Regions from separate parts of the Homo sapiens genome. Here region 2 is linked to region 1. Evidence: promoter capture Hi-C in human tissues and cell types (Jung and others, 2019). All regions are on one chromosome and are shown on one strand. Each heading gives the region's core, a stretch centred on a gene start or on the middle of the fragment in contact. The rest is flanking DNA. Distances are from core to core; before and after follow the strand shown. Region 1 holds the start of ITIH3 (inter-alpha-trypsin inhibitor heavy chain 3). Region 2 overlaps SFMBT1 (Scm like with four mbt domains 1).

Evidence for each region. The method cuts DNA at HindIII sites, captures the fragments that hold promoters and counts their contacts. A contact is called where the count stands out against the background at its distance.
Region 2: a contact is called between a fragment that was not itself captured here and the fragment with the promoter of ITIH3 in region 1, in 5 of the 25 tissues and cell types used here (IMR-90 fibroblasts, dorsolateral prefrontal cortex, heart left ventricle and 2 more).

What each region holds. Positions count from the first base shown.
Region 1 is chr3:52,792,055-52,796,710 of GRCh38, reverse strand. It overlaps ITIH3 (inter-alpha-trypsin inhibitor heavy chain 3), which reads right to left and starts at 1,915. Exons shown (of 22, transcript NM_002217.4): 1 at 1,815-1,915; 2 at 1,088-1,108; 3 at 64-230. The coding sequence starts at 1,907. It overlaps ITIH1 (inter-alpha-trypsin inhibitor heavy chain 1), which reads right to left. Exons shown (of 22, transcript NM_002215.4): 22 at 4,649-4,656. RefSeq lists an enhancer at 1,428-2,317. The HindIII fragment of the contact is 27,249 bases long and covers 1-4,656 here.
Region 2 is chr3:52,902,789-52,907,444 of GRCh38, reverse strand. It overlaps SFMBT1 (Scm like with four mbt domains 1), which reads left to right. Exons shown (of 21, transcript NM_016329.4): 19 at 131-376; 20 at 1,204-1,332; 21 at 2,169-3,873. The coding sequence ends at 2,309. Among named protein-coding and RNA genes, the nearest start is that of STIMATE-MUSTN1, 7.6 kb to the right of the region's middle. The HindIII fragment of the contact is 5,171 bases long and covers 1-4,656 here.

The DNA.
Region 1 (4,656 bases), core at 666-3,165:
AGATCACACTGGGCCAGACCCCCTGTTCCCGAGCCCAGAGCCAGCAGCCATGGTGGTACCCACAAGGTGAAGTTGGTGATGAAGGCCGTCTTGGGCAGCTCCACATCAAAGGAAACCTCCTTGGCCGTGTCTGCACGGTTGACGGCTCTCATGGTGACAACATTGTGAGCAAAACGGGAGGTCACCTTGGAGTTGATTTTGGTACTGTAGACCTCGATGCCATTGGCCACCTTTGGGGAGGTGGGTGGAGAATCAGCCAGACTGGGACACTGGAGAAGCAGGTTTGCAACCCAGCCACCTCCCTTGCAAACCCTTGGAGGCTCTGAGGCCCCTGCCCGGCACGCAACCCTCATCCTCCAGGTCTTCTACACTGGAAGACTTGGTGGCGTCTCCAGTCTCCATGTTCTGGTGGCCACCATTATTCAGATGCTTGTCCTGCCTCCTTAATTCTGCGATCCGTTTACACACCACTGCAGCCAGTGAGAGCTTGCCCTTTCCCGTCCAGTCACCCTGAGCTCCAGCTATGCGTGGGACACTGGCTCTGGAGCATCTGCCCCTGGCTCTTCCTGCTCATCCTCCACACCTCACACTCCCTCAAGCACACAGCCCAGCCCACCTCCTGGGTCTTTAGGTAATTGCCTCATTCTGTCTCCCAAAGAGGAACTGATTTCCTGTGCCAAGGGAAGTCTCCAAACACCCTCTTTCCAATAGGGGTGTTGAATTTTGAGAGGCTCTAGGGAGGTGTTCCAGCCCCCTCCCCCTAGGGATATAAAGATGCTTCGTGAGGGTGTGGCAGGGACCGCTTCACAGAGCCAGGTACCAGCAAGTGCTAAGGAAGTGTCTGCGGAAGGAAGGGATGCCTGTGAGGGGCCCTCTTGGGCTACATCCTGCGAGGTTGGAGGGGTCGTCACTCTGTGGTGCTCTTTCCCAGGAGTCCTGCGCTGTTGGAGGCTGCCAGGGCAGAGGGCCGTAAGCTGTTTGCCAGCTGTGAGGAGTCAGCTGTTATAGCCTACACCTTCAGCAGTTGGGGAACCAGCTCCATCCTGCCCTGCCCCACTCGGTCCCACCCCCTGGTGAAAGTTCTTACCCCTTCCGGGAGGCTCCGTTTCTGAAAAAACAAAAACAAACACAAACACAGGAATCAGGCCAAGGCCAACACCAAGGCCGCATGGCCTGGGAGGCTCTGGGCTGAGACCAGGGGTTCAGTGGTGCCCTGCCCCCCACACACCTGAGTGGCCCCCAGACATAGGACCCTCCAGAGCCACATGTCAGAGTAGGAAAAACTCTGAATAGATGGGGAAACTGAGGTCCAGAGAGGGGCAGGTATCCAGGTTACCAGGAGAGCAGGGCAGGGGGAACTGAACCCAGAGCTCTCTTCACACCCTACATGCCCCACCTCATTCTATCTCCCATTCTGCCTTTCCCTGGCCCCCAGGCCCCTTTAGGCCTCCTTCCAGAGCACCCCTGCCCCCGCCACACCCCGCAGGGCTCAACTGAGCATTTTGTAGAGGTCACACTCGTTTGAGACTTGAACCTTCATTGCCCCTCAGTGAAGTGAGCAGTTCCTGGTGCATTGCTCTTTTGACAGGTGGGGAAGCTGAGGCCCAGGGAGTTTTAAGAGCCTTCCCAGGGTTAGACAACAGGTTAGCATAGGCCTCAGCTGGAGCCCGGTTCTCCCAGTGTCCACACTACTCCCAGCAGCTCAGTGCCCAGCCCTCTGCCTCCTCTTCACTCCACTCAGAGGCCTTGCCCAGCATGATGCCTTCTGCCCATTCCACACCAAGACCCAGATGGCAAAGAGGGGGCAGACTCACCCCAAGCAGCCGAAAGGGGCTTCTCGGGAAGCCAGAGGCTGCCAAGCTGGAGAGCAGAGCCAAGATGAGACAGGGCCACCATGCAAATGCCATCGCTGAATACTCAGGCCTGGCCCACGCTCCTTATATGAGCAAGCCTGGTGTTTTCCAAGCAGGGTCAGTGACCTGCAGCGGGGGTGGGAGGAGTGGAGGCAGGAAGGGCCTCCGGGAAGCTGGGCATGGGTGGAATGACGGGTCCCTCGATGTGTCTGTCTGAAGAAGGCCTGGTGGGTCTTGCCAACAGCGTTGGGGCTTCATTCCTGAGAGACCGGGGGACTCGGAAGAGGCCCGCAGGAAAGCAGAAGCTGTGGGCCAACAAATGGACCCTGGGACTCCCTGGCGTGGATGATGGAGATGGGGTGTGGAGTTGCATTTAGGGCAAAGGGCATCTCAGCATTGTTGCCTCTTATCCCTACCACTGGGACAGCCTCTCTCTGGCCTCCTGGATTGCAGCCCCTCCCTTCTTGAGGCAGCCAGGGCGTGAAACTAGACTGTCACCTTCAGGCTGGGACCTCCACAGCAGAGCCCCTCGCTCACTACCCTTCTATGGCCCCCAAAGCCCCAGGGAAAGGACACACAACGATCCCGGAAGCCCAGCTGTCTCTGTGATCTGACCCCAGCTTGTTTTTCTGAGCTCACTCTCTTGCACCAGCACACCCTCCCCTTCTGCACATGTCACATCTTTCATCTCTCTGCCAGTCCCAGTGCCTCCCCTCCAGGACCCTTCCCTGGCCATCCCCTAGAGGACTATGGGACATCCCTGCTCCAAGCCCCAAGCCCCCTGAGGGCCTGCTTTGTCATGACCTTATGTTGAGGTGGATGTGCTCAGGTCTGCCTGCCCCCTCTGCACCCAGAGCTCCTGGGGGCTGGACCATGTCATGTTTCCCTCTGTGCTTCCAGGGCCCAGCCAGGGACTTGGCTGCCCTCAGCCTTTTGGGGAGTCATTGCCCTAAAAGTCGTAGTGAGGCTGGGCTCCAGCTTCCAGGACAACAGGAGCTTTAGAGGCAGGACCTGGTCTCAGTGGGGGCTGGGACCTCCTGAGCCACCTCAGGACCCTGCCAGCCTAGCCCCATCAGGGCAGCTGTTGCACACCCACCATACCCATGGCTTCTCTGAGCCAAGCTGACCCTGTGACCCTCCCACTGGGCAGCCCACTACTGAATGGAGTCGACAAGGACGGCTGGGTCCAGGACAACTAACTTATGGGGAGTTCAGCGGCCTCAGCTGAAAGCTCTGGTGCTGACTGGGAGATGTGCAGAGAGAGTTGTTGGGAGCAGAGGAACCAAGAAGGCAAAAGGCAGATGCCACGGGGCAGCGGAAGCCCTGAGGAGGGTGTGGTCTAATGGCTGGAAGAGGCAGCAGCCACAGAGCAATGATGGAGAGTTGCCAAATCAGCCAGGCACTATGGCTCTTGCCTGTAATCCCAGCTTTTTGGGAGACTGAAGCTGGAGGATCACCTGGGCCCAGGAGTTCGAGGCTGCAGTGAGCGCTGTGTTCGTGCCACTGCGCTCCAGCCCGGATGACAGGGCGAGACCCCCGTCTCAAAAAAAAAAAAAAAAATTGAAAAGAGGGAGTTTCCAAGCCAGTGAAATGATGGCCAAGTGGCAGATGCTGCCTGTGCTTGGTGTCTGGCTGGGCGGTGCCTGTTTCCCTCGGGCCTCCTGAACCCTTACACCAACCTCACTGGCAGCAGGCACCAAGCTCGGGCCTGATGGAGGCCAAACCCAGCAGGTGCTGGCGCCTGGGTGTGGAGAGAAGACCCCTCAGAGCTGCCGTGTCCTCATTTCCTGGCTTCTGGGATGTTTTCAGTCCTGTGGCTGCTGGCACTGGGTGGCTGGCACTGTTGCCCAATGGCTCCTCCTCACGGACCTGCAGCTGCCTGCAGAGCTTCTCCTGTACTCTCTCATCTGGACCACTGCCTCATCCCCAAGTGCCTGGAGTTTGGGGAGACGGACAACTCGAAATAGGGATTCTGTAGCTGCTCAAGCAGCCTCAAGGGATGGCTGGGGACTTGGAGGAACCAGAGTCGTCATGCAGACTTTATAATTAGACGGAATCTAAGAGATCTTTGGGTTCACCGCCTTTCCATTCTACAGGAGAGGGAGATGAGGCCCCCATTGGGCAGGCCTTGCCAAGGGTGACCCCGACAGCTGGCAGCTCACAGCTCTTCCTGGAGAACCCCAGGATACCTGGGAAGGTGGGCTGGCCGCCCCACAGCCTGCCGCTAGGGGCTCTGTGTTCATAGGGCCTGGGGCAGCCTTTGAGCTCAGCATTGGTGTTATTGATCCAGGCCCTCAAAACCAGTCCTTGTTCTGTCTGGTCCCTTGTGAGCCTCATTTATAGTGGAAACTGGACAGAAACTAGCAAGAAAAAGCAGAAAGCCTCTGGAAAGCAGTGGGTGGAGGCCTGTGCGCATTCACACACAGAGCTCTCTGACGTGTGGCTCACCTCCCTGCACCTGTGACATTGTGTTTTGACTGGGCCCCAAGGTCAAGCCAAGGGAGGGGACCCTGATGGGGTAATTCCAGGCATTCACATGAGGAGATGGTAGGGTGCCACTCCTGGCCCCCTGAAATCACAGCTTCTGGGCAGGGACCATCTCTGCCTTTGGAAAATACCAGCCTGGCTGCCAGACGTTACAAACCCTCAGCAGGGAAATGGTGTGAGCTTTCTTCCCAGCCTCTGACCTGCTTCTCCTCTCCCTGGGTCTGTTGTAACCCCTTAGTCCATCTGAGGGGCAGCATCTTGGGCTGCCTCCCTGCCATCCTCCCTCCCCAAAATCAGCCAGCTCAGGGTGGACACG
Region 2 (4,656 bases), core at 921-3,420, 110 kb before region 1:
AAGATGGTTTTGTGGCCCAAGAACTGGTTTGTCCTGAATTTCTTTTCTTTCTTTATTATTTTTTTTTAATCATATGAAACCTGGGATTGATGTCCTGAATTTCAATGAGACTTCTCTCCTTTTCCTGCAGGGAAGTGGGGGTGAAGATGAGGATGACCCAGATGAAGGGGATGATGATTCCCTAAGTGAAGGCAGTACATCCGAGCAGCAGGATGAGCTACAGGAAGAATCAGAAATGTCAGAAAAAAAGTCATGCTCCTCTTCTCCCACCCAAAGTGAGATATCCACATCGCTGCCTCCAGATAGACAAAGGAGAAAAAGGGAGCTTCGCACCTTTTCATTTTCTGACGATGAAAATAAACCTCCTTCACCAAAGGTACCATTTAAAAAATAGTTTCTTTTTTCTTTCTTTCTCTCTGGAATTTCCATCTGGAATATGATTATTAGTGATATTGACATTCTACTTCTTTCAATACAGACTTATGTAGAATTTCCAGGGTCTCTTGTAAAGTGACCCCAAATGCAGTGATTTACATGTGTTTCAAGGATTAGTTGAGATCATCTACTTATAGGGGGAAAGTCTCTCTCAGAGTAGCTGCTTGTTTTAACAACAACAACAAAAAAAGCCCCATTGCTAGCTTATTTGTAGCTTGTCATTTATTTTTGGGAAAACTGCCTTTTTAATATGTTTCATAATATATATGGTTTTGTAGAAAAAAGTTATCCTTTTGATTCTGGTTAAGCCATTTGGCTTAATATATTATTTACTATATACATATGAACATTTTATAACATATGTATAACACTAAAGAACAATTTAGTGTTCAAAAACTAGATTGCTTTTTAAGAATATTCCATGAACAGAAGCAGTAAAGATTCCTCCTGGTAGTTTAGTTAAGCCTTCTCTCAATGGAATTATCATCCCCTTCTCTTCAGCACCCTGTTTTTCTTAGTTAAATTGTCTAAATTATCTGTGCTGGAACTTTGAGATAAATTCTTTCCCATTGATACTTCGTATTATAAAAGACAGACATTTCCTGAGTACCTGATGCACGTGGGTCTTTGCCATCTTTGCTGGGAGAAATCATGTCCTAAGACCACTTTAAATCATGTCTTGAAAGATTATGAATTTAGGTAGAGAGACTTTTTTAGAATAAAATAGCCGTAACACCATTTGGTTTGATTGTGTTGTGGGGAATGAAGGAAATAAGGATCGAAGTTGCTGAAAGGCTTCACCTGGACAGTAACCCCTTGAAGTGGAGTGTGGCAGACGTTGTGCGGTTCATCAGATCCACTGACTGTGCTCCATTAGCAAGAATATTCCTAGACCAGGTAATCACAGATACCTATAATTTTTAGTAATGTCTCTTTAGCAATAAATTATGGATGTAATAGTCAACAATTTATTTACAAGTTTTAGGAAAAATGTTTTGATCCAAAAGACAAGAATTGTCTTAATTCCATTTTTAGGAGTCAAAGATGATAAAAAGTTATTTATCAGACTTGCTTCATAGTTGAAGGAGATTATCATTGCATTCCAGTTTTTCCTAAGAATTTGATTCCATCCCTCCAATATCAAGCATACCATGCTTAATTGTCCACATCTTTTCAAAAATAATGATTTGCTTGTTTAAAAAAAAATAGCATCTGTCACATTAGGCTCTAGAGTGGTGATAAGTTTTAAGGCAAGCTTGCTGAAACACAGTCAGTGGCCTTAAACATTGAAATAAGTTTTGTTTAGAAAATTAGGGAGATTCAAGAGCTTATCGGGTTTTTATGAATGTTACAGAGTAGGAAAACATTGAAGTTGATAGTTAATCCTTTGTTTCAGATTTAGAAGGAACCCTCTAAAAAGATGGCACAATTAGTTGCCAGTTACAGGGCTAGTCAGTTTACTAAATTTCTATGGGACAGAGACTCTGGAATGGATTCTTATCCTTGGTAAAACTTTATTGTCCTCAGTAAAACTTTATTAATTCTGAAGCTTCATTAGTGTGGAAGACTATGGAGTCACTTAAAAGGAAGTGTGTGATACCTAAGACGAAAAAGTAAGGAAAGGAAAGCATAGGGATTCCAGTTTTGACAGAGCTAAAGTGAGGAGAGGCTGTCATGATCAAGCTGCCTTTCATGTGCACATCACAGATAATTTGTCTTTTATGCTTTAACAGGAAATTGATGGGCAGGCCCTGTTGCTCCTTACCCTTCCCACTGTTCAAGAATGCATGGACTTAAAATTGGGCCCTGCCATCAAACTTTGCCATCACATAGAGAGGATCAAGTTTGCTTTTTATGAGCAGTTTGCCAACTGAGAAGGACAACCAAAGTGAGCTGGATCTTTGAAGCACAAATGCAGCAAATCCTTCACCCTGCTTTATAAGTGGAGCTGGAATAGTCCTGGGGCTCTGGGGCCTGCAGGTATCAGCTTGCTCTCTTTGCACTTTCGGGGAAGGAGGACTCACAGTGAGGAAGCAAAAACTGTGCACAGAAGTGGATCACCTGCTGGTGGAAATGTGGACATCTCTTGTTCAGCAGATGGCAGTTTTTAAAAAATAAAGGTTGTGAGGAAAAGACTTATATAAGAAGAAAAGCATTTCCAGTGGTGTGGCCTGAAAACAAAGAATAACCTAGGCTGCTGGAAAGCACCCTTTTGGTTGTTTTCATTCTGTTCCCTCCCATTGTAGATTGAACTTTGTTCTCTGCTTTCTTTTTCTTGGAAAGAGAGGACTTAGCTTTAAGTCAGCACTGATTTGGGACTGTTCCTAAGGCATATCAGTGCTTCATTGTCATTGTGTTTTTAAACTTTTTAAAATTAAAACAGTTCATTTTGGGGATGATTATGTGGCTCTAGGGTTTTGAATGTATAGTCACACTTTGATCATTTTAAAATCGATTCTTAGGAGTTCCTTTGTTTACTACCTCTGTTGATAATTGAGCTTACAGCCATGTATGAGGTTTTTTGTATGATGCCATTTTTAAGCTACATAAACACTAAAATTATGACAGAATTTGGAGGGGGGGAAACTGTTTGCTTTCTTAAAAACATTATATGGGGCACTTACACCAGTTCCTTAACTGACCTGATCTGAGAACTCTACTGTTACTGTTCTCCATCTTGACCCAGCCGAGGCTGCCTGTGTTAAGTAACATCACCAAGACTGTTAGTATTTCTGTTTAATTGCCCTCTTCCTATTCATTCTCAGAGGGACTTCAGTGACTTTTATTTTGTGTTTACTTTTCTCTAGAGTTGTTTGTCTACCTCTGTTTCATTTCTAAGGTCTTTACTTTGGGTGAAAATCAGTAAGTGTTCCATGGACCCACAGCGAAGCCCATTTGTCCTTCTTTCCAGGTGTCTCCAGTGTAGAAGCACAGCACAGAAAACATGTTTTGGAGGGTAACGCAGAGCATGGAGTTTCTGTTAGCAGTGTCCTCAGTGGCAGGATAAATACTGAGATGTGGTTAAGGATTCTGGAAACCTCTTTGCCTAGCCACACTTAGACTTTTTTCAGCTAATCCTTTAAATTGAATATAATCTTTAGTCCGAGGATTCCCATTTAAACAACTCAGTATTCTTTTAAGTGTGTCTTTTAGCCCAGCTCAAGTTAACATGAAACTCCAGGTGAATTTTCACTTACTATTCCATTGCTAGCTATTATAGAATAATAGCGTTTGCTGCACTATTCTAGTCATGAGGAGTGAGGAAAAACATACATAGGTTGTCTCCCTTAAATGGTTTGCTTTGCTGAATTTTTTTTATCCTAATCACCTGCAAATTTATAACCCAATCATTCTTCCTCAAGATTTGAAAATGTTTTAATCCTGCAAACTGGGTGAATTCTAAACAGCTCTACAAATATAAGGAAATATTACAGCAAATTTTAACTGATTGTGATTTTTTTTTCCCATTCCCCACCACCCCAACCTATTTTTGTGGACATTGATGAATAATCTGGAGCCTCTCTTCATTGGGTAATTCATAAACCAACTTAACTCAAGCCCTGCAACTAAATCATACATTAAATCATTAACTCTTCACTTAGGTTCCTACCAGATCTATCTGGGAAGAAGCTTCATTTAAGTAAAAATTAGTATGTTTGAAACTTAGAGATCCAGTTTTTAAAAATTTAAATCTGTGTCTGTGGAAGACAAGGATATATAGGGAATGCTAGGGAATAATTAGCATTAAACATTAAGCTTTTGGTGGGTAGTGGTGGTAATCTTGCTTAATGAAATTTCCTGAGAGTTCAGTCAAGGTACTAAGGAAAAGAGGGCCCCTTGAGGAAGAATAATGGAACAGAATTTCTGGAATTAATGTTTAGGGCCTCGTGTTATTATCTTATTTAGGAAAGTGAAATATATTTCCTATAAGAGGGAATTTACCAAACACAAGAACAATGAATGCTTTATTTTGTCTCTCTTTTGACTTCTCCAGAAACCACAGAATTAAGAATCATCTCCCTTCACAGGTGAGGGGATGAAGGCGCTGAAGGGCAAAACATACAGCCCTACGTAGTCTCTGATCTAGGTAGAGTCAGAGCCCAACAGGCTTGTTTATACCATGATTATTCAGGCTCAGCCCGTTCCTAGAGAAAGGCTGACTCTAAATGGTCAAGTAAGTTGAGTTTCCCTTAATATTTCTTGCATTCTCCTATTAAGGCA